Linked DNA regions of Homo sapiens: regions 1, 3, 4, 5, 6 and 7 are each linked to region 2. Evidence: promoter capture Hi-C in 16 types of primary human blood cells and fetal thymus (Javierre and others, 2016). All regions are on one chromosome and are shown on one strand. Each heading gives the region's core, a stretch centred on a gene start or on the middle of the fragment in contact. The rest is flanking DNA. Distances are from core to core; before and after follow the strand shown.

Evidence for each region. The method cuts DNA at HindIII sites, captures the fragments that hold promoters and counts their contacts. A CHiCAGO score of 5 or more calls a contact.
Region 1: a contact is called between a fragment that was not itself captured here and the fragment with the promoter of RWDD2B in region 2, in 1 of 17 cell types (non-activated CD4 T cells). The highest score is 5.5, in non-activated CD4 T cells.
Region 3: a fragment that was not itself captured here is called in contact with the fragment with the promoter of RWDD2B in region 2 in 1 of 17 cell types (non-activated CD4 T cells); the score reaches 6.1 in non-activated CD4 T cells.
Region 4: a contact is called between a fragment that was not itself captured here and the fragment with the promoter of RWDD2B in region 2, in 1 of 17 cell types (non-activated CD4 T cells). The highest score is 5.9, in non-activated CD4 T cells.
Region 5: a fragment that was not itself captured here is called in contact with the fragment with the promoter of RWDD2B in region 2 in 2 of 17 cell types (non-activated CD4 T cells and total CD4 T cells); the score reaches 10.3 in non-activated CD4 T cells.
Region 6: a contact is called between a fragment that was not itself captured here and the fragment with the promoter of RWDD2B in region 2, in 1 of 17 cell types (fetal thymus). The highest score is 8.2, in fetal thymus.
Region 7: a contact is called between a fragment that was not itself captured here and the fragment with the promoter of RWDD2B in region 2, in 1 of 17 cell types (naive CD8 T cells). The highest score is 7.5, in naive CD8 T cells.

Annotation. Positions count from the first base shown.
Region 1 is chr21:31,171,981-31,175,146 of GRCh38, forward strand. The region is part of intron 15 of TIAM1 (TIAM Rac1 associated GEF 1); the gene reads right to left. Among named protein-coding and RNA genes, the nearest start is that of KRTAP19-8, 140 kb to the left of the region's middle. The HindIII fragment of the contact is 187 bases long and covers 1,171-1,357 here.
Region 2 is chr21:29,017,664-29,020,800 of GRCh38, forward strand. RWDD2B (RWD domain containing 2B) reads right to left here and starts at 1,686. Exons shown (of 5, transcript NM_016940.3): 1 at 1,548-1,686. The coding sequence starts at 1,614. LOC124905005 (a long non-coding RNA gene) reads left to right here. Exons shown (of 2, transcript XR_007067836.1): 1 at 1-584; 2 at 1,250-3,137. RefSeq lists an enhancer at 1,527-1,776. The HindIII fragment of the contact is 4,408 bases long and covers 641-3,137 here.
Region 3 is chr21:31,151,464-31,154,637 of GRCh38, forward strand. TIAM1 (TIAM Rac1 associated GEF 1) reads right to left here. Exons shown (of 28, transcript NM_001353694.2): 17 at 2,784-2,963; 18 at 1,603-1,671; 19 at 1,173-1,298. Among named protein-coding and RNA genes, the nearest start is that of KRTAP19-8, 110 kb to the left of the region's middle. The HindIII fragment of the contact is 264 bases long and covers 1,195-1,458 here.
Region 4 is chr21:31,737,238-31,740,397 of GRCh38, forward strand. All of the region lies in intron 1 of LOC124905008 (a long non-coding RNA gene), which reads left to right. Among named protein-coding and RNA genes, the nearest start is that of SCAF4, 6.7 kb to the left of the region's middle. The HindIII fragment of the contact is 314 bases long and covers 1,294-1,607 here.
Region 5 is chr21:26,067,903-26,070,842 of GRCh38, forward strand. All of the region lies in intron 3 of APP (amyloid beta precursor protein), which reads right to left. Among named protein-coding and RNA genes, the nearest start is that of APP, 100 kb to the right of the region's middle. The HindIII fragment of the contact is 3,912 bases long and covers 1-2,940 here.
Region 6 is chr21:26,836,462-26,839,758 of GRCh38, forward strand. It overlaps ADAMTS1 (ADAM metallopeptidase with thrombospondin type 1 motif 1), which reads right to left. Exons shown (of 9, transcript NM_006988.5): 7 at 3,126-3,297; 8 at 1,978-2,153; 9 at 1-1,817. The coding sequence ends at 1,118. Among named protein-coding and RNA genes, the nearest start is that of ADAMTS1, 7.3 kb to the right of the region's middle. The HindIII fragment of the contact is 1,646 bases long and covers 1,225-2,870 here.
Region 7 is chr21:31,649,031-31,652,080 of GRCh38, forward strand. No RefSeq gene overlaps it. Among named protein-coding and RNA genes, the nearest start is that of SOD1, 9.1 kb to the right of the region's middle. The HindIII fragment of the contact is 5,366 bases long and covers 1-3,050 here.

The DNA of each region.
Region 1 (3,166 bases), core at 14-2,513, 2.2 Mb after region 2:
AGGTTAGCAGAACAACCAACCAGCTGAGTCTGGCCCAAACTGCTGAGCCACAGAACAGTGAGCAAGTAAAACAGTTGTTTCAGAGTGGTCTATTACGTGGTAGTAGATAACCAATAAGTGGTGAGGGGGAATTTCATGATACCAGAAAGCCAGAAAGCAGGAGGTGACAGTGGTACGCTTCAAGGAAGCTGAGGAGAGACACCAGCATGGCAGGAAGAGGGAATTCAAGTGGGAAAGGGCATTGTTCTCACTCCCATACTTGAGGGCCTTCTCTAAACACTCCCAGCTTAAGAAGTGTAGACAACAACATGGTCAAGTTTGTTTGTTTTTTTTTTAATCCCATACAAACAGAGTTTTGCAATTTCCTACTCTAGCTTCCCCTGTGCTACTCACAATAGTAGTAGGTGAGCGGCTTTCCCCTAATGACAGAAATTGGAGGAATTATCCTCTTTGTTCTGGACATTCCTGTCCCCACCTACTTACCAGGAAACAAAGCACGACAGCTCTGCTACCAATCAGAGAGAGAAGAAAGCTGAAGATAAGGCTCAGTCGTGGCTGGAGAAGCAGGATGCCCATCCACATCCCAGTACTGAGCACACTGCCAGGCATGCAGCAGGGGACCGGGGGAGAGGAAGAGGGCTCGGTCTAGAGAGACAAAGTCTCAGGGAATGAAGAAGCCCAGAGCAGGACTGTGGACTCTCTCAGACAGGGATCATAGGCCAAATCAAAAGCTGCTATAGAGCCCGGCGCAGTGGCTCACAACTGTAATCCCAAACTCTTGAGAGGTTAGAGCAGGAGATCACTTGAGTCCAGGAGTTCAAGGCTGCAGTGAACCATGATTGTGACACTGCACTCTAGCATGGGTGACAGAGAGAAACCCCAACTCTATTTGAAAGTAAGAAAAAAAAAAACTGCGGTAACCCTGTAAATAGAATTGATTGTTGTGAACAGGTAAAATCAATGCTTTGCCTTTTAAGTTACCTACAATAATATTTTTGTGACTGCAAAAACGTTTGCAATCAGTACCTCTGACGCACCATCAACAGGACAGACAACGAGGAGATTTGGGGAAGTACAAACATATTAGTGCAGTTTACATTGAGATTTACCTTTCATTTACCCAGATTACACACATCTACTTTGGTTTCATTCAAGTCCATGTGGGACTTAAGCTTAAGGAGGAAGAAAAAAAATTCTGGCCTCGTGAGATGTCTTAACAATGTGCTCTAAGCAGACCCTCCAATTCAAACATTGACAAAGAGAAACAATTACAACACGAAACTTTTAAAAGGTCTTTTTAATGCCTGAGTTTAAATCCCTGATGGAAAAAAAACGTTTGGGGGTGGGGGCAAAAGAAAGCTTAAACACTGTCAATAAAGATATTTAGCTGGAACTCAACTGTTAGGATATAATTTTATTTTGCGTTTCAGTCATTTTACTGTTATAAGATTTTAAGAATTCCATATAAATACCCATAATAACATCAGCATAAACACTCACCCCTCCAACAAAGCTAAAAAACAAAGCAAGAAAGAAAGAGAGAGCGAGAGAAAGAGAGAGAGAGAGAGAGAGAAAAGAAAAGAAAGAAAGAAAGGAATGTTACAATTTGAACTTGGTAGACAAATAATAACTCCTTTTTAATCAAATGTCACAAAATCTCAGTTTTTGTTTCCTATAAAGAGAAATTTAAAATTCCATTAAAACTGTAGATTTAAAATAGTAACTTCTTTTTAGTCAAATGTCACAAAATCTCAGTCTTTGTTTCCTATAGAAATTTAAAAATCCATAAAAACTTACTAATCCTGTTAGCTTGTTGTGAAAGTCAAATATACATTAACAATCTTTAAAAATATCAAAATAGAGCATCTCAGTCTCCGAAACATGTTTTTTCACACGCAGGATTTGACGGTGTCATCAGTCAAATCTCACTGGAAGTTACCCCGCCCCCGGCCATAGCAGGGCCCACGCAGGCAGGCCATGTGCTGTGTGACAAGAAGCACAGCAGGCCGACAGTTTACGAGGCGCGCGTGTCTCCAAATGTTATCGACAAACAAACAGAGGACCATGTGCTGCCGGGTATCTGTGAGACTTCAGAGAATCTGAAGCCCTGGACCATATTTGTTTGTGGGAAGAGAAATCTGTGCAGTTCCTCTTCCTTTGCCGCCCCTCCCTGCCGCCTGACTGTCTTCGGTTTTCAGAATCGAGCTCCAGGCCATCTCCATGGAACATCAGACCAAAATAGAACCTCACACTTCACGGGTACTGCACAGAGGCACGTCCTGCCCATGCAGACCAAGCGGCTGTCCGTGCTCAGCACTTGGCAATTCCTCTCTCTGAAGCAAGGTGCCTTCGACTTTCACGGCTATCACAGAGGCCTTTCCTGTTCAACAAACGCTGCTTAATCTACTTCCTGCAGGAGGGACACTGGTCTGGACTGCAGAGCACAAGCTTCCACTTGGCATCAGACAGACACGCCTGAGGTTTATCAAAGGATCTGACTCTGCAACTCCAGCGCTGGCCCTAATTGCCTTTAACATGCCATAGGCCTGCTGTTAGCCACACGCACTTGGCTTTCTCCAACACCACAGCAGGAATAACCATTTTTTGAACAAGAAGCAGCTCTTGGAACGCTGGAACTTTTATTATTTTTAAAATTGTTACCTTTTTTCTCTTTTTCTTTTTTTGAGAGAGAGTTTCGCTCTTGTTGTCCAGGCTAGAGCGCAGTGGTGCGATCCCGGCTCACTGCAACCTCCACCTCCCGGGTTCAAGCAATTCTCCTGCCTCAGCCTCCTGAGTAGCTGGGATTACAGGCACCTGCCACCACTCCCAGCTAATTTTGTGTACTTTTAGTAGAGACAGGGTTTCACTGTGTTGGCCAGGCTGGTCTTGAACTCCTGACTTCTGGTGATCCACCCTCAGCCTCCCAACGTGCTGGGATTACAGGCGTGAGCCATCGTGCCCAGCCTGTTACTTTCTTTTTTAGAGATAGGGTCTTGCTTGTCTCACAGGCTGTGTGTAGTGGTATGATCAAGGATCTCTGCAGCCTCAACCTTCTGTGCTCAAGTGATCCTCCTGCTTCAGCTGCCTGAGTAGCTGGGACTACCGGTGCACACCACCACGCCTGGCTAATTTTTAAATTTTTAGTAGAGACAAGGTCTCACTATGT
Region 2 (3,137 bases), core at 436-2,935:
CTGAAAAAGAAAACAAGGATAAGGGAAACAATGAGGCAGCAGGGGTGAGACTGCACACAGCATTGTCAGGAAAGGCCTTTCTCCTAAGGTGACTGTAGGGAAGAGACTTTAAGGAACTGAAAAAGGAGGCCATGTGTTTTTCTTGGCCAAGAGTGTTCAAGGGAAAGCGAACAGCATATTCAAAGGCCTTGAGGAAGGAGGGTGCTAGAACAGCTGGCCAGAGCACAGTGAGCTGAGGACACGGGGAATAGAAGAGTTTAGTAAGGAAATGTGGGGCAGTTTATGTTGGGACTAGTAAAGCATGGCCAGAATTTTGAATTTTATCCCGACTGACATGTAAGAGCTACAAGAGAGGTTTGACTTATGAAGATCCCCACACTTGCTGCTATGGAGAAAAGTGAAAGGAAAAGTGGGGTGACCAGATATAGACACCGCAATAACTAGGGAGAGATGATGGTGGCTTTGATAGGATTATAGTGGTCAAGTTGGTGAGCTTCAGGTTCTGGATACATGCAGAGAACAGAGGCAACAGGATTTACAGATGAATTACATGAGACACGGAAGAATGACTCCGGGGCTTTAAGGTACTGAAAGTATGGATCTGCCATTTATTTAGACGTTGATGGTCATGGGGAGCTGAAGCTTGGTTTTAGACACAAGTAATGAAGTGCCTACTAAGACACCTGTTAAATAGAGAGGTCTAGCAGGCAGTTAGATGTATAGTTTTGAAGTCTACGAGAGACTCAGCTAGATATATAATCTTGGGAGTCAACACTTATTTGGAACTATATATTTGTTTAAAGTCTCCCAGGGAGTGAGTAAAGTTGGGAGAGGGTGCTATTGAATTGGAGGTATCGAAGATGAAATGGGATTAGCAAAGAAGAACGGGACGGAGGGACTCTTGAACGGACAACTACGGGAGTGATGTCACAGGTCATTTATCTGCCAAATTATTTTCGCTTAAGAGATTTCAGTCCTTCCAAAAAACCCTCAAGATAATTTTATGATTCAAGATTTCAGCGAATGCTGTAAGATAATAGACTGTGGCCGGGCGCGATTGCTCACGCCTGTAATCCCAGCACTTTGGGAGGCAGAGGAAGGGGGACTGCTTGAGCCCAGGAGTTCAAGATCAGCCTGGGTAACATAGTAAGAGCTCGCCTTTATTATTTTTTTAAAAAATAAAATATATTTAAGAGAACGCAGACTGAAACTTGAGATTTCTGAGTGGAATAATATCTTTTCCTTGCAGATTTTTTTTTGAAGAACAGAGCAGGGTACCCCGCGACCCAAGCCAAGACGCTCTCAGGAAGAAAGCCCAGCACGCAGCCGCCCTCGCACCCTGATTGCCCCCGGGGCGAGGTCCCCGGCTGGAGCAGGGCTGCAGAAGCCGGGAAGCAACGCCGAGGACCGAGCCGACCGATGGGCGCATGCAGTGAGGGGAACCGGGGCCGCCATGCCGGGCACGTTCCCAAAGGGTTGCACTGGGCGCTGCAGCGTGGGAAACCCCCGTGGCGGTCACCACTGGCGCTAGCTGAGGCGAGACTCACCTTGAGCCGTGGCCCCCTCACTGCTGTAACCCGGGTTCCATGGCTGCATGGACAGCTCAATTTTCATCAGAAGGGAGCCTCAAAATTCTAGCATACTGCGACCCAAAACTTACAAACCGCCTCAGCTGGCGACCTACCGGAAAAAAAAAAAAAAAGCATGCGGCGCATGCGCGTCCAAGGCCGCGGACCGGAAGCTGGGGCTCGCCTGTTGGGAGCCGCGTCCGCCGGTGTTGGTGTCTGCACTTGGAAGGACGTAGGGAATGCGTTGTCCCTGCTAGGTACTTTTCAGTCGCAGAGTTCTCTTCTTCTTCTTTCTTTCTTCCTTTTTTTTTTTTTTGAGACGGAGTCTCGCTGTGTCTCTCAAGCTGGAGTGCAGTGGCGCGATCTCGGCTCACTGCAGCCTCCGCCTCCTGGGTTCAAGCGATTCTCCTGCCTCAGCCTCCCGAGTAGCTGGGATTACAGGCGCCCACCACCATGCCCAGATAATTTTTGTATTTTTCAGTAGAAATGGGGTTTCACCATGTTGGCCAGGCTGGTCTCGAACTCCTGACCTCAGGTGATCCACCGGCCTCGGCCTCCCACAGTGCTGGGATTACAGGCCTGAGCCACCGTGCCCGGCCGGAGTTTTTCTACTTAATACCTCTCCATGCCAACCCCGTTGTCATTTCCCAGCGGCCGCCTCTATAACGGGCACTTTTCAGGGACAAAGAATTGGTCCGTTAATGTTCCTCAAATTCGAACGCGCCTAGGAATAGTTCGGGGATCCTGTTGAAGTGCAGATCAGGATTCCGTAGGTAGGGGTGGGGTTCCAAATTCTACATTTCTAGTATCTTCCCACACGATGGTGATCCTCCTTGTCCCTGAATCATGGAGGAGGGCAATTAGGGAGATGTGAGCCTGGATGCATGGTGGCCTTGGCTATCTTAGGTGTTCTTGCCCATTAACCAAGCTGGGAGGAACCGTGTGAATGCATATCTATCCCTGTTAATAAAAGGGTAGTTTGAAGGAGATGCTGACAGGAGAATAATTAGAAATGTTTTTCTTCCCAATCCAACTATATGCAATACACTTTATAATATTCATTTTAGAAATGTCATAGATAAGATTTGTAAACATTGACATTTAGCAATACTAAATATCACTGCTAGGTCTCCCCTCCACTTTTTTTTTTTAAACAAAAATACGACAGTATGTATTGTAGGTCTTCATAAACTACGTCTTCTGCATAGTGTTTCATGAGCGTTTTTCAATGTCATAATTTATTTTTTCCTCCAACATTTATTATGAAAAAATTCAAGTGTAAAGCGAAGTCGAGAGAATTTTACAGTGGAGCAGACCTCAAGAGAAGGGGAAGGATGGATTTCCCCTCTATTTAGCAGTGTCTGAAGACATTTTGGGTTGTCACAACTGGAAGGATGGTATTGGCATGGGGTAGGTAGAGCACAGGGATGTTCCTCAACTTCCTACAATGAACAGGACATCCCCCGACAACAACAAATTTGCTGGTCCAAAATGTTGATAGTGTTGAGGTTGAAAAACACTGACCTGGAGAGTACAGAATTTTACTCTACCAGCTTTGTCACATACCTC
Region 3 (3,174 bases), core at 77-2,576, 2.1 Mb after region 2:
AACGGGTACTTGGTATGGGATTCCACCAATATAAAATTCCAGAATGCAAACATATTTAACATAACAGGGAGCAGAGCATGGAGCAGGGGTAGAGTGGGAGGGCAGTAAGAGGCAGAAGAGAAAAACCACAAAAGGGCAGGACAAGACTTTCAGGAGAAATGATTATGTGCATTGTCCTGATTGTGACGATGGTTTCATAGGGGTGTGTGTGTGTGAATTCATCAAATTCCACACTAAGTATATGCAGCATATTCTACTGCACAATTATACCCCAATTAATCTGTTAAAGCACATGAGGGTGACACGTAAGCCAACACATGAAGCAATGTGCTTTGTTAATTGGAGGTGCAACACAGGAAATCTGCAATAAAAGAAAGCCAAGCAGGGGAGAGGAAATAAGCATCCTTGCTAAGGCACTAGTCATAAATCCTCATTAGGCTGCAAGGACACCGTGTGCTGGAAGATTGTCTTTCCCCTGGATAATGATAAGCATTTCCATTAAGCAAAGTTTCCCAGAACACGATAAATTAATTTGTTTACTGGGTAACCAGAAGTGCCTTTTTTTTTTTTTTTTTTTTTTTTTTGTAAGACGGAGCCTCGTTCTTGTCCCCCAGACTGGAGAGCAGTGCTGCAATCTCGGCTCACTGCAACCTCTGCATCTCAGGTTCAAGCGATTCTCCTGCCTCAGCCTCCTGAGTAGCTGGAATTACAGGTGCCCACCACCATGCCCAGCTAATTTTTATACTTTTTGTAGAGATGGGATTTTGCCACGTTGGCCAGGCTGGTCTCAAACTCCTGACCTCAGGTGATCTGCCCGCCTTGGCCTCCCAAAGTGCTGGGATTACAGGCGTGAGCCACCATGCCCAGCCAGGAGTGCCTATTCTAATTCACTGATAGCTAAAGCATTAAAGGCCCCCACATAAACCAAACAAAAGGTCAAGGTTGGTACTTCTTCTCACGTAAAAGCCAGCAGCTGCACCAGTTTAATGCAAATTGATGGCATTGGGCTTCCCTTAGCCAGACCAGCAAGACACACTCCATTCCCCTCCCTCTCAGACACCCTTAGGAACAGACCCCACTGTGGCCCTCCAATGAAGACATCAACACGATCAGGGGATTCAACTTGAGCCACACTATAGCCCTGACGCTGGAGGCAGCTTTGCACTATTTACCTTAAATTGATCAACCTTCTCAAGCTTTTCCAAATCAGGTACCAGTCTCACTCCATCTTCTAGAGTTTTAAGGAATTCTACTTGAAACTCTACCATTTCCGTTAAATTTCCAAAAAGCACGTCAAGCTAGAAATAAAACAGAATTTAATGCACCTCATATCTCATTAGTCTTCCTAAACGTTATTTATATCTGATTACAAGGTTTTTCTATCAATTCTTATCAATTAAGAGAATAATCCCACTACCAGAGAGCGGGGCAGTTTTTTACTCTTCATGAGCACACCAAAGCTTAGCAGGCAATAATTTCAGCTAGTTACAATTAAATAAATTTAAAATGTTTTCAGTGTTACGCATGTCCCCATTTTTCCTCTTTACCAACAAGTCAAACCACGGTATGATGGTCACAAAGTTGAAACCATTTCCAGCATACCTCATCCTGGGTGAGAAAAGTTTCTTTTTGAAGAGGCTTTAGGTATCTCTCCATAAGACAGTTTAAATCCTAAGAATTGAAAAGAGAACTCATTAGCTTATGTGTTTTATTTTTTATATACCCTAGAACTTAAAGTATAAAGCATATGTTAATGTCTATAAAAGGATCTAGAAGAGAACAAACAGATCCTGTCCCGAAGGCTAACGTTAGAGACTTTAGGTCGTTAAGGTCCATTTCATGCAGGAGTAAGCCAACCTTTTCTGTCAATATTTTAGGCTTCGAGGACTAAAATACGGTCTCCATTGCAACTTCTTCAACTGTAGCACCCAAGCAGGCATAGACAATATGTCAAGGAATGAGCGTGGCTGTGTTCTCATCAAACTTTATTTGCGAAAACAGGCAGCGAGCTGGATTTGACCTGAGAGCCGTCGTTTGCTAACCCCTGATTTAAAAGACTAAGATATAGATACTTAAACAGATCACCCTGCTTTCGCATAGGAAATGTGACCAGGTGTCAGAACAAGTGATAACACAAAGACAACAGACCTGGCAGTCTTCTGGCTAGATTCTAATTAGATTATGAAGATCATACCCTCAACTTTTAAAAAAATTAAATGTAGCTTTCTTATTAGGTCAACAACACATACATATATATATATATATAAATGAATTGCCGTGAAAATCACTAGGCTTCCTTAAAAATCACAAGAAGGCTGGGCGTGGTAGCTCTCACGCCTATAGTCCCAGTACTTTGGGAGGCCAAGGTGGGAGGATCGCTTGAGCCCATGAGTTCGAAACCAGCATGGGCAACATGGTGAAACCTCCTCTCTACAAAAAAAAACAGAAAACGGGGCTGGGCATGGTGGCATGCACCTGTGGTCCCAGCTACTCAGGAGGCTGAGGAGGGAGGATTACTTGAGCGCAGGAAGTAAAGGCTGCAGTGAGCTATGATCACACCACTGTACTCCAGCCTGGCCAACAGAGTGAGACTATCTTAAAAAAACAAAAAAAACAACTCAAAACAAGCTTTTAACATTCAGAGTATAGGCAAAATTCCAGGAGAAACCAAGACGCTCTTCATGAACACAGTTTAAATCAGCTGTTAATGAAAACCAGCAGACACACCAACTTCACTCCTTTACGAGGCAGAGGGAGGGCAGGGGGAGAAAAAAGAAACATACCTTCACGTAGGTGCGCTCCGTCTCCAGGAGCTCGCAGATCACCTTGCGCAGCTTATCTGCATCCGAGAGTTGTCTCATGGTCGCCAGCTGAGGCCCCGTGGAGTCCTGAGGAGATGGGCTCTGGTCAGAGGGGTTCATCTCATGCAAACTGCGGCAAAATGCGGCCACCTGTTCTGTACTCTTCGGAGCACAGGGGGGAAGGGAAGGCAGAGGTCATTATCCCTCATTAGACGCACCTGACACCTGGACCGCCTAGAGGTGTTCTCCCTGGTTAGTCAACTGTCACATATGAATGTCGTCTTGTGTTTCCACAAATTGCTCCACATTTAGGAGAGCTTCTTGAATGCTCATAACAACCAGGATAACAATTGCTAACATACACTCATCGCTT
Region 4 (3,160 bases), core at 201-2,700, 2.7 Mb after region 2:
ATGTTGTTGGGGCCAAAACAATGGAATGAAATGTGTGGAAAGCAGGAACTCCAAGAAGGAAGAGCTCAACGGCAGTTGGGCAATGGGATTTTAGGGAATTTTCATTTTCTTTTTAATTTTTCAGCATTTTTCATACTCCTCACAGAAGGCATGTATCACTTTTTTTTTTTTTTTTGAGAAGGAGTCTCACTCTGTTGCCCAGGCTGGAGTGCAGTGGGGTGATCTCGGCTCACTGCAACCTCCACCTCCTGGTTTCAAGCGATTCTCCTGCCTCAGCCTCCTGAGCAGCTGAGATTATAGGCATCCGCCATCGTGCCTGGCTGGTTTTTTTTTTTTTTTTTTGTATTTTTAGTAGAGATGCGGTTTTGCCATGTTGGTCAGGCTGGTCTCGAACTCCTGACCTCAGGTGATCCGCCCTCCTTGGCCTCTCAATGTACTGGGATTACAGGCATGAGCCACCACACCAGGCCAGTTTTATTGTCAGAAAGAGTAAGCTCCTTAAAAAAGTAAACATACAAGTAAGTATGCAGCAAACCTAAAATGTTCTGGATGTCATCTTAGCTATGATTGCAACAGTGAGCATATGAGTAACTAATAAAGGAAAACAATTTCTCTTCATCACTTCCTATCTTACTTAGGATTAGGAATCCAAGATTCTCTTTCCAAAATGGAAAGTATTAAAAACCAGTCTCATCTGAAGTGAAATGTCACCTTTTAGGACTAGGCCACGCCAGTCCAACATTTGCTGTTTCATTCATTCAGAAAATAAATGTGTACATCTCTTGTGGACAGGCACTGTGCTAGGTGTGTGGAATACTGTGATAAGCCCAAACACAGATAAGTTCCTTCCTCGAGGAACTATTCCTCCAGAGTCTGGCACCTTGCCCTGATGTTGAGTATTTTCCATGTGTATATTGGCCATATGTATACTTTCTTTTCCTTTTTTTTTTGAGATGGGGTCTTGCTCTGTCACCCAGGCTGGAGTGCAGTGGCTGGATCTCGGCTCACTGCAACCTCCGCCTCCCAGATTCCAGTGATTCTCCTGCCTCAGCCTCCCGAATAGCTGGGATTACAGGCACATGCCACCATGCCCACCTTATTTTTGTATTTTTAGTAGAGACAGAGTTTCACCATGTTGGCCAGGCTGGTCTTGAACTCCTGACCTTGTGATCCCCCCACCTCGGCCTCCCAAAGTGCTGGGATTACAGGCGTGAGCCACCGCACCCGGCCATGTATACTTTCTTTAGTAAAGTGTTCAAATCGTTTGCCCTTTAAAAAAACGGATCATTTGGAAGCTTCAATAGGAAGCTATTGAATGATATGAGTCCTTTGTCAGATATGTGTGTTGTAAACATTTCCTCACAGTCTGTGGCTTTCCTTTTCATTTTCTTTTGAAAAGCAGATGTTTTTAATTTTGATGGATATAATTTATACTTTTTTCTTTTATGGTTTGTGCTTTTCTGTCATATTGAAAAATTTTTGCTTATCCCCAGGATATGGAAATGTTCTCCTCTATTTTCTTCTTGACTCTTTATAGCTTAGCACTTTTGTTTAAGTCTGTGATCCATTTTGATTTAATATATGTGTATGAGATAAGATAAATATCAAGCTTCATTTTTTTACATTAGGATATCTAGTTGTTCCAGCACTATTTGTTGGAAAAAAAGATCATTTCCCCCATTGAATTACTTTGCCTCCTTTGTTGAAAATCAGTTGACCACATATGTGTGGATCTAGTTCCACGTATGTGTACTCTGTTCCTTTATATATATCTATATACTTTTCTTGCATATACATAGCCCACTGTCTTAATTTCTCTAGTAATTCAAGTAAATCAGTTAAAGTCTCCAACATAGTTCTTTTAAAAATTGTTTTCACTATGCTGTAATCTTTGCATTTCTATATAAATTTTTAAATCAACTTGTTAATTTCAAAAAAAAAAAAACACCCCACACAACTGAAAACAAGACAAAATAGGAAGTATGCTGGCTAGGCGTGGTGGCTCACGCCTGTAATCCCAGCACTCTGGGAGGCCGAGGTGGGCGGATCACGAGGTCAGGAGTTTGAGACCAGCCTGGCCAACGTGGTGAACCCCCGTCTCTATTAAAGATACAAAAAATTAGCTGGTCATGGTGGCGCTCGCCTGTGCACCTGTAATCCCAGCTACTTGGGAGGCTGGGGCAGGAGAATTGCTTGAACCTGGGAGGCAGAGGTTGCAGGGAGCCGAGATCACGCCATTGCACTCCAGCCTGGGCAACAGGGTGAGACTCCGTCTCAAAAAACAAAACAACAACAACAACAACAAAAATCACAAATGGGTGTTAATGTTGTCAGATACCATGGCTATATTCATTGGGATGATTATGTGATTTTGTCTATTCTATTATATTAATGAATTACTGTGATTGGTTTTTGAATGTGAAACCAACCTGGCATTCCTATAATAAAATCCACTTGGTTATGGGATATTACTTTTTTTATATGTTGCCGGGTTCAATTTGCAAAGATTCTGTCTGTCAAAATATTTCCTTCTATATTCATGAGTGGTATTGGTGGTCTCTGTTTTCCTTTTCTTGTAATGGTTTTGGTGTCGGGGTAGCTTGCTCTCATCAAATTATTTGATAAGTGCTTCTCTCCTTCCCTGTTATCTATTTTTTTTTTTTTTTTTTTTAGATAGCGTTTTGCTCTTGTCACCCGGCTGGAGGGCAGTGGTGCGATCTTGGCTCACTGCAACCTCCTGGGTTCAAGCGATTCTCCTGCCTCAGCCTCTCAAGTAGCTGGGATTACAGGCAGCTGCCACCATGCCCAGCTAATTTTTGTATTTTTACTAGAGATGGGGTTTCACCATGTTGGCCAGGCTGGTCTCGAACTCCTGACCTCAGGTGATCCACCTGCCTCGGCCTCCCAAAGTGCTGGGATTACAGGTGTGAACCACCACACCCGACCTCCTTCTCTATTTTCTAAAATAGCCTGTGTGGAATTGATATTATTTCTTTCTTAAGATTTGTTAGAATTCACCAATGAAGCCACTTGGGCCTAAAGTTTTGCTTATGAGAGGGTTTTATATTAATCAATTTTTAAAATTGATATAGTGTTCTTCAGGTCTTCTGTTTCTCGAGGGAGTTTTGATCATTTGTATTTTTTTCAGAAAATTGTCCAT
Region 5 (2,940 bases), core at 322-2,821, 2.9 Mb before region 2:
CTTTCTGCCTTATTTAAAAAAAAAAAACAAAAAACTCAAAGCCTGATAGATTTTAGAGACGCAATTAATTAAGGTTATATACGGGGCTTTTTAAAAACCACATAATTGCCGACAAAATACCAACCAGGTTGGTGTTCCGTGAGGCAAAAGAACCACAAGTCATTACCAAAACCTTAACTCATATGGGAAGGTAAAAATATACAGCATGCTGTTTTCACATACCATACTCAGAAAGCCATGTGCGAGGGAGGCTATAATCAAGACAGGAAGAGGCATTTTCACAGATAACTTCTTAACGGGGTTGTAGACTGTCACTCTCACGCCCCTCACTTGTTCTTTCCAACCTATTACCATCTGGCCTTGCTCCAACAATCTGCAACTCTTCTTTCAAGGTCAAGAACAACAAATGCCATCAGTCTCTTCTCAGCCCTCCAGTTCTCTGACTACTCTGCCACATTCTCTTTTTTTTTTTTTTTTTAAAGAGACGGGGATACCCTCTGTCAACCAGGCTGGAGTGCAGTGCTGTGATCATAGCTCACTGCAGCCTCCTGGGCTCAGACAACCTTCCTGTCTCAGCCTTCCAAGTAGCCGGGACTACCGGCACATGCCAACATGCCTGGCTAATTTTTTTTTTAATTATTTTTTGTAGAGACAGGGGTCTCGCCACGTTGCCCAAGCTGATCTCAAACTCCTGGCCTCAAGCAACTCTCCTAGCTTCAGCCTCCCAATTTGCTGGGATTCTAGGCATGGGCCACTGAACTTGGCCCACTTTTCTTCTTTAAATTCAATCTTCTCCAGTTTCCACCAATCTATCTCAAGCCAATCATTCTTTCCCTCTCATTGGCTCCTCTTTTCATAATTCTGATTATAAAGTAAGGCTCTGTCTTCTACTCTTCTTGCTTTCTCACTCAGACATATCATCCATGCCTAAGGGTCAACAGCCTCCTCCACTCTTTCAATTCTGACCTTTCACTTAGCATTCCCAGTCGCTTGCTGCATGCTTCCAATTGCAGGGTATTAATTACTTTTAGCAAATGTACTAGAATCAAGTGCCCAACTGATTATCAAATTCCGGAAGTGTACCCAAAGGACAATGACTAATTCCTCATTGGGTCAAAGTCTTTCCTATGTGGAAGCAAGAGAAAGGAACAGAACTAACACTGAACATTGTGAGGAGCCCAAAACATGACTCCTGCTGAACACATTCTATTTGGTTGTAGAACCCAACCAATATAGGCCCCGTTGATCGATTTCCCCACAACAAGAGGAGGTCATAAAAATCATGCTTCCACTTTCTCAATAGATACTTATCGCTCATGAATGTCTGTGAATCAGAAGACCATGGGACTATAACTCTACTCCACTCAAACTCTCCATACTCCCAAAGCTGGACCTCATGGTCCTCAGATCATGTAATACTCAGACACAGCACTCCAGTAAACCACTTTCTGGCCAGAAACTCATCCTTCCCATAGTTCCTCTCCCTTCCATCCACTACAGCTTGTTCATCATGATCCTGAGGTCCTGGATGCTGCAGCACTCTCTGCAGTTATCAGGGGAGGCTTCACTGCCTTCAGTTCATTTCCCTGCCAGCCTGGTCTAGGACCCTCAGCACACACACTCATCACTGCACATATCACCAACGACCACCCACATGCTTTTGATGCCCAGGCTCATTTGGTCCAGCCTATTTCTCTCCTAAGTGTGAGACTCAATAAATACACAACCACCCCACTGTGCTCTTCAAGAGCTTATTAACTGCCTCTTTTAGATTCTCCTGGGTATAGTCCAGACTTAAAATGCCTCACTTTGGGAGACAATGTAATTTAACCATTGGAGGAACAAATGTTGGTCTATATATTTCAGGCATTTTCCAAATAAAAACCTCCAAGAAAAAGCAAACTTGTATCTTAAAAGATGCAGAACTATTTAGGGCAAAAAGTACACAGAGAATGAGAAAGAAAAAAGATGTCACTGCATTTAACAAAAGAGTTAACAATATTGTTAACAATAACAAGAGTTAGCCATGAAGTAATTAGGATATAGTACTTGAAACTGGCACCACCTTTTACCAGGCATTACAATATTGCTATGAGTTCACAAAGCTCTGTTAGAGCAGAGGAAAAAGAAGGATTTGAATTCTGTCACTGTACTAGCAACACCACCTAGGGATGAGGAAGACAATATCTAATAGAATAACAAATAAAGTAAGTATACATGATTCATCAAGCTCTTCAATAAAAATGTATTTTAGAATTTATCAACATCCCTTTTGAATCATGTTTCAAAAATCACACAATCTGTTCAAACACGGATAGACCCCCAGATAAATCAGAATCTCTCTCTCTGTTACCACGCCTCTGTGGACTTAGAAATCACCACTTAGATTTGTAAACAAGGCTTAGTTTCATTATTGTAAATCAATTTGGCAGGACTTATCACTCCACAGAGAGCTGAAATAATTGAATTTCTGGACTTCTAAGGAAGAAGGTTTAAGTACATTAAGGCTTCCAAAAGGAAGATCACCAACTCTTCTTTAGCAGAAAATGCCCCTGGAGAATTTTGAACCATTTCTTGATCTAGTGGCAACTGGATGTTATCAGTGGCAACTAAGGTATCTGTCTACACCTGCTGAGGCTCACAAGTAAAAACTAAAAAGTACTGTGAATCTCTGTGATAATGGAGCGTAAAGCTACCACTTAAGTCTTTATTACTAGTAAGTAACGGATTTTAAGAAAAAAAGAGATACTCAAATCTATCTATAGATAACCAAAAAACCAAACAAAACACCCAGAAAAATCTAAGGTTGAAGAACATATATAATTTGAGACTTTTGAAACAAAACACCCAGAAAAATCTAAGGTTGAAGAACATGTATAATTTGAGACTTCTGATCAGAGCCTTCCTCAATAATGTAAGTTTAAAAACTATTACCAAAGT
Region 6 (3,297 bases), core at 798-3,297, 2.2 Mb before region 2:
CCCAAACCAATACTTATAAAGTACATGTAATTTATAGTAACATATTTTACTATATACATATGGAAAAAATCATATTCTCACAGAAGAGCTGAACAGACATTCACCAGGATACGACTGTTGGACCAGCTGCTGGAGATGGACCTGCTACCCCTCAGCAGCCTCCCCACCACAAGACAAGTGATCTCAATGTCCCCAAACCTGTGGGACCCTGTTCTACACACCTCATTTTTGTTCCGGCGTTTCATCCTCCTTGTGTGATTGTACTGATTTTCATGAGACACAAGTTACTTCTTTACATCCATATTCCCAAAGCAGGGTTACATGGTAGGAAAGAAAGGAAGTTGGAGGTACTAAGCTCATTGTGTCTCCTCTAGCTTTTACCAGCATCTAATGCTTCACTGCTTTTTTTCCATTGTAGACTTTAATGCACTTGAATAAATACATGGAGTTGTTTTTTCCTCAAAATGAATTACACAAATAAAGACTGAGATGGTCCAAAAAAGGAAAGAGGAAGCCATTTGCGTTATTTCACGTTGCTGAGCCTTTCTCTCATGTTGAACAATCTGAAGTTTTAATTCTCGGTAGAAATAATGTATAAACATTCTCTGAAACCATAGCAGCCATAAACAGTGCTGGTCAAAGATCCTATTTGTACTCCTTTCTCCCCCCATTGTTAGTGAGGTAAAGTAAAACAGGTCTTAGTAAAATCTCACTTTTCTCCTACTTTTCATTTCCCAACCCCCATGATACTAAGTATTTGATAAGTACCAGGAAACAGGGGTTGTAATAGTTCTAACTTTTTTTGACAATTGCTTTGTTTTTTCTAAACTTGTAATAGATGTAACAAAAGAAATAATAATAATAATGCCCGGGGCTTTATTATGCTATATCACTGCTCAGAGGTTAATAATCCTCACTAACTATCCTATCAAATTTGCAACTGGCAGTTTACTCTGATGATTCAACTCCTTTTCTATCTACCCCCATAATCCCACCTTACTGATACACCTCACTGGTTACTGGCAAGATACGCTGGATCCCTCCAGCCTTCTTGCTTTCCCTGCACCAGCCCTTCCTCACTTTGCCTTGCCCTCAAAGCTAACACCACTTAAACCACTTAACTGCATTCTGCCATTGTGCAAAAGTCTATGAAATGTTTAGGTTTCTTTAAAGGATCACAGCTCTCATGAGATAACACCCCTCCATCATGGGACAGACACTTCAAGCTTCTTTTTTTGTAACCCTTCCCACAGGTCTTAGAACATGATGACCACTCCCCCAGCTGCCACTGGGGGCAGGGATGGTCTGCACAAGGTCTGGTGCTGGCTGGCTTCACTTCCTTTGCACACTCGGAAGCAGGCTGTCCATTAATGTCTCGGCATTCTACCAGTCTTCTCTGCCAACCCAATTCACATGACTTAGAACATTCGCCCCACTCTTCAATGACCCATGCTGAAAAAGTGGGGATAGCATTGAAAGATTCCTTCTTCTTCTTTACGAAGTAGGTGTATTTAATTTTAGGTCGAAGGGCATTGCCCACAGTAAGAACCTGGATGGTCAAGGGCTCTTTGAGAGGGCTAAAGCTGCGAATTCTTTCCAATGCCGCAGAGGAGCCGCTGTACCTCAAGACAACACCTTTGTACATAATGTCTTGCTCTAAGGTGGACAAAGTGTAGTCACCATTAAGAATATATGTGCCATCAGCAGCTTTGATGGCAAGAAAGCTGCCATTGTTCCTGGATCCCCTCTGGTTCCGCTGTTTCACTTCGATGTTGGTGGCTCCAGTTGGAATTGTGATGATATCATGATATCCAGGTCTGCAGGTGACAAAAACAGGCATAAATCTCTGATTCATTGGCTAATTAGATTATTTAGCTTAAAAACACATTAATCTTTTATGAGACATATTTTTTTCCCAGACCTGTTGAAAGGCCCATTTAAATTATAAGGTCTGCAAATAGGTGTTTTAAAACTTACTTTGCACTAGTAACTGATCCTGATATTTTTTTACAAGTAGATCCATTTCCCCCGCAAACACCACATTTATCAAACTTCTTTTTGGAGTCTATGATGCGATCACAACCAGCTTTTACACACTGTCCTTGCACACAGACAGAGGTGGAATCTGGGCTACATGGAGTACCATCTACAACCTGAAAAAAGGACACATGTCTAGTGTTACATACAAGCAAAGGAAGGAGATGCTGCAATGATAAGTGTAAACATTTTCTCTCTACTTTCCTGACCATGCTAATTAAACACAGTACCCTCTACACATTATGCATTTCATGCATTTACCCTTCACTTTGGCATATTTTTCAGTACTACGTATAGACATCTGAAGAAATTAGATATTTTTAAAAATTATTTATCTATTGACCTATGTCTCCTCCAGCTAAGGTCAATGAAAGTAGAGCTGTTTGTCACTTTGTTTACTGCTGTATCTTCAGAGCCTAGAATAATTAGTATCTGGCAAGAGTAAGTGCTTCAGAAATCACTTGCTGAATATTGAATCTGCAACTTGGGAATATTTTCATAGCCTATGGTGCTAATGACACACGATCATCTCAATCACATTAAATTCCATTTTCTGTCTCAGATCCAGATGTATTCCCTTAGCAAAACAGCAAAAGAAATGATGCTTTTCCTAGTTCAATATGTGTTTTCAAACATAAAAATAATCAATACTCAGACTACCACTTCTATTATTCTGTTTGCACCTGCTACTGCTAGTTACCCAGTAACAAGTATTTTGGACCATGCATAGACTATTTTCCAAAACTACTGGTTACTGTGTGAATATAAAATGTATCTAACTATGAGCTGTATGTGAAGCCTAGTCGCACAGAGGAGCGCTTGACTGTCCAAAAAGCTTTTCTTTGCATATAAAAGAGTAATAGCGAGCAATTGCAAGCATGTGAAGTGTTAGATTTAAGCTTCATTCATAACTGAAAACACTAAACTCAAAGCAGGCAGTTGCCAATTAATGTAAAAGAAAAGGAGTTCAAATTTGAAATTGAAGATATGTTAATATGGAAAGCAAAGAAAGTATAACAAAAATTGTTTGAAAAGGTAGCAAGCCCAGGCCTTGATTTTTAGGTAAAAATAAGGTAAAAACGAACTACCTTGGGCTGCAAAACGAAGAAGTAGCCAATGCCTTTGGCTTGGCAGATGAGCTTGCACCTGTCCTTTGGTGAGACGCCAGCGTACTTGGGAATCCATTCCACCGCAGGCCCACTCCCAAAGGAAGCTTTTGAAAACTCGTTGTGTGCTTCACATTGTTCCTCTCTAAAGGTT
Region 7 (3,050 bases), core at 494-2,993, 2.6 Mb after region 2:
ATTATACCTCAATAAAGCTGAAAAAATTACTTTGAGATGGCTCTTATTAAAAAATACATATTGTAATCCATACTGCAATGACTAAGAAAATTTTTAAATAGTTAAAAAAAGAATTTAAATGCTGTACTAAAAAATATGTAACACAGAAATCAGTGAAAGAGGGGCAGAGAAACAAAAATAGGAGACATATGGAAAACAAATAGCAGGTTGGGTATGGTGGCTCATGCCTGCAATGCTAGTATTTTGGGAGGCTGAGGTGAGAAGATTGCTTGAGCTCAGGAATTCAAGACCAGACTGGGCAACATAATGAGACCCCATCTCTATAAAATTATACAAAGAAAAATTAGTGGGGTGTAGTGGTGTTTGCCTGTAGTCCTAGCTACTTGGGAGGCTAAGATGGGAAGATCTCTTGAGCCCAGGAGTTCGAGGCTGCAGTGAGCTGTGATCACGTCACTGCACTTTAGCCTGGGCTATAGAATGAGACCCTGCTTCTAAAATAATAAAAAATAAAAAAAAAAAAGAAAAGTAAATTAAGCAACAACAAAAGAAAACAAATAGCAAATGGTAAATGTAAATCCAAACTTATTAATTACATTAAATGTGAATGGTCTAAACATTCCAATAAAAAACAAGATATTTGGATTGGATAAAAAAGGCAAAATCTAACTATAGGCAGTCTGCAAGAGTTACACCTTAGGTTCAAAGACACAAATAGGTGGAAAGTAAAAACATGGAAAAAGATATGCTATGAAAATAGTAGGCTGGACATGGCAGCACATGCATCTAAAATCCTAGCACTTTGGGAGGCCAAGGTGGGAGGACTGCTTGAGCTCAGGAGTTTAAGATCAACCTGGGCAATACAGCAAAACCCCATCTCTACAAAAAATACAAAAATTAGGGCCTGTTGGTACGTGCCTGTAGTCCCAGCTACTCAGAGACTGAGGTGCGAAGATCCTTGAGCCTCAGAGATCAAGGCTGCAGTGAGCCGTAATTGGGCCACTGCACTACAGCCTGGGTGACAGAGACAGAGTGAGACCGTGTCTCAAAAAAAAAAAAAAAAAAGTAACCATAAGAGAGTTGCAGTCATTAGTTATGTGGCTATCAGCTAACATAAACTTTAAGTCAAGAAATATTACTGGAGACAACGAGGAACATTTAGTAATGATAAAAGAGTCAATATGTCAGGAATGTACAAGTCATAAATATGTACATCGCTAATAAAGCCTCAAAAACATGAAACAAAACTGGCAGAATTAAAAGAGATATAAGAAGATATGGACAGTTCAACAACAATAGTTGAGGATATCAATATTCTATTCTAATTGATGAAAAAATTAGACAATAAATCAGCAAGGATATTAAAGAGTTAGAAAACATTATTAACCTATGTGACCTAATTGATATATGTCCAATGAGTCTCAACTCATTCAGTGAGAACAGTTAATAAAGACATTTTTATTACCAGAAAATAAAATTACAGAATAATATCCCTTAACAAAATATTAATACACCAAATTCTGCAACATATATAAAGGATTATATACTCTGAACAAGTGGGATTTATTATAGGAATTCAAGGTTGGTTAACGTCTGAAACTTGACCAGTGTAATATACTATACTGATAGAACAAAGGACAAAAACTACATGATCCTCTCAATAATAGATGCAGAAATACCTTCTAACAAAATCTAACACTCTTTCATGTTAAAAACTCTCAACAAACTAGGAATAGATGGGAACTTCCTCAACCTGGATAAAGTGCATCTATGAAACACCCACAGTTAACATCATACTTAACAGTAAAAGACTGAACATTTCCCTGAAATGTCAGGAACAATGCAAAATGTCAGTTCTTGCTACTTCTATTCAACACTGCCCTGGGGGTCCCAGACAGTGTTATAAGGCCATAAAGATGAAAAAAGACTGAAGTGGACATTTCATTAAAGAAGATATACAAATTGCTAATCAGCATTATGATAAGGTGCTCAACATCATTAGTCATTAGAAAAATGCAAATTACGGTTACAATGAAATACTACTATACGTTCATTAGAATGGCTGTAATCAAAAAAGAAAAACAATACCAAGTGTTGGTGAGGATGGGGAGAAAATGGAACCATCATACGTTGCTGATGGAAATGTAAAGTGATGTAGACACTTGGAAAAGCTAATTGGCAGTTTTTTAAAAAAGTTAAACAAAAGTTAAAAAACCAAAGAGAAATAAAACCATATGTGTTCAGAGGCATGAATGCCAGTGTTTACAGCAGCATTATTCATAATATTCAAGAACTGGAAATACTCCTGTATGCCTGTCTAAGGCTGTTGTAACAAACTACCATGCACACGGCTGGATGCGGTGGCTCATACCTGTAATCTCAGCACTTTGGGAAGCCGAGGAGGTGGATCACCTGAGGTCAGGAGATTGAGACCAGCCTGGCCATGATGGCAAAACCCTGTCTCTACTGAAAACACAAAAAATGAGCCGGGTGTAGTGGCAGGTACCTGTAATCCCAGCTACTTGGGAGGCTAAGGCAGGAGAATTGCTTGAACTCGGGAGGTGGAGGTTGCAGTGAGCCGAGATCGTGCCATTGCACTCCAGCCTGGCTGACAGAGAGAGACTCTGTCTCAGAAAAACAAACAAACCAGAAAAACAACTACCACAAACTGAGTGGCTTATATAACAGACATTGTCTCATAGTTCCAGAGGCTAGGAGAGATGAAGGTATCAGCAAGGCTGGTTCCTTCTGAGGCTGTGAAGAATCTGCTCCATGCCTCTCCCCTAGCTTTTTGGGGTTTGCTGACAATATCTGGTGTTCTTTGGCTTGTAGAAGCACCACACCTATCTCTGCCTTTATATTCACATGGGGGTGTTCTCCCTGTGTGCTTATGTCCAAATTTCCTCTTTTGTAAGGACACCAGTCATGCTGGACTTAGGGGTTCATCCTACTCCAGTATGACCTTATCTTAACTAATTACATCTGCAAAACCCCATTTCCAAACATGGTCACCTTCCAAGTTATTGGGGGTTAAAACTTCAGGGCTGGGCGTG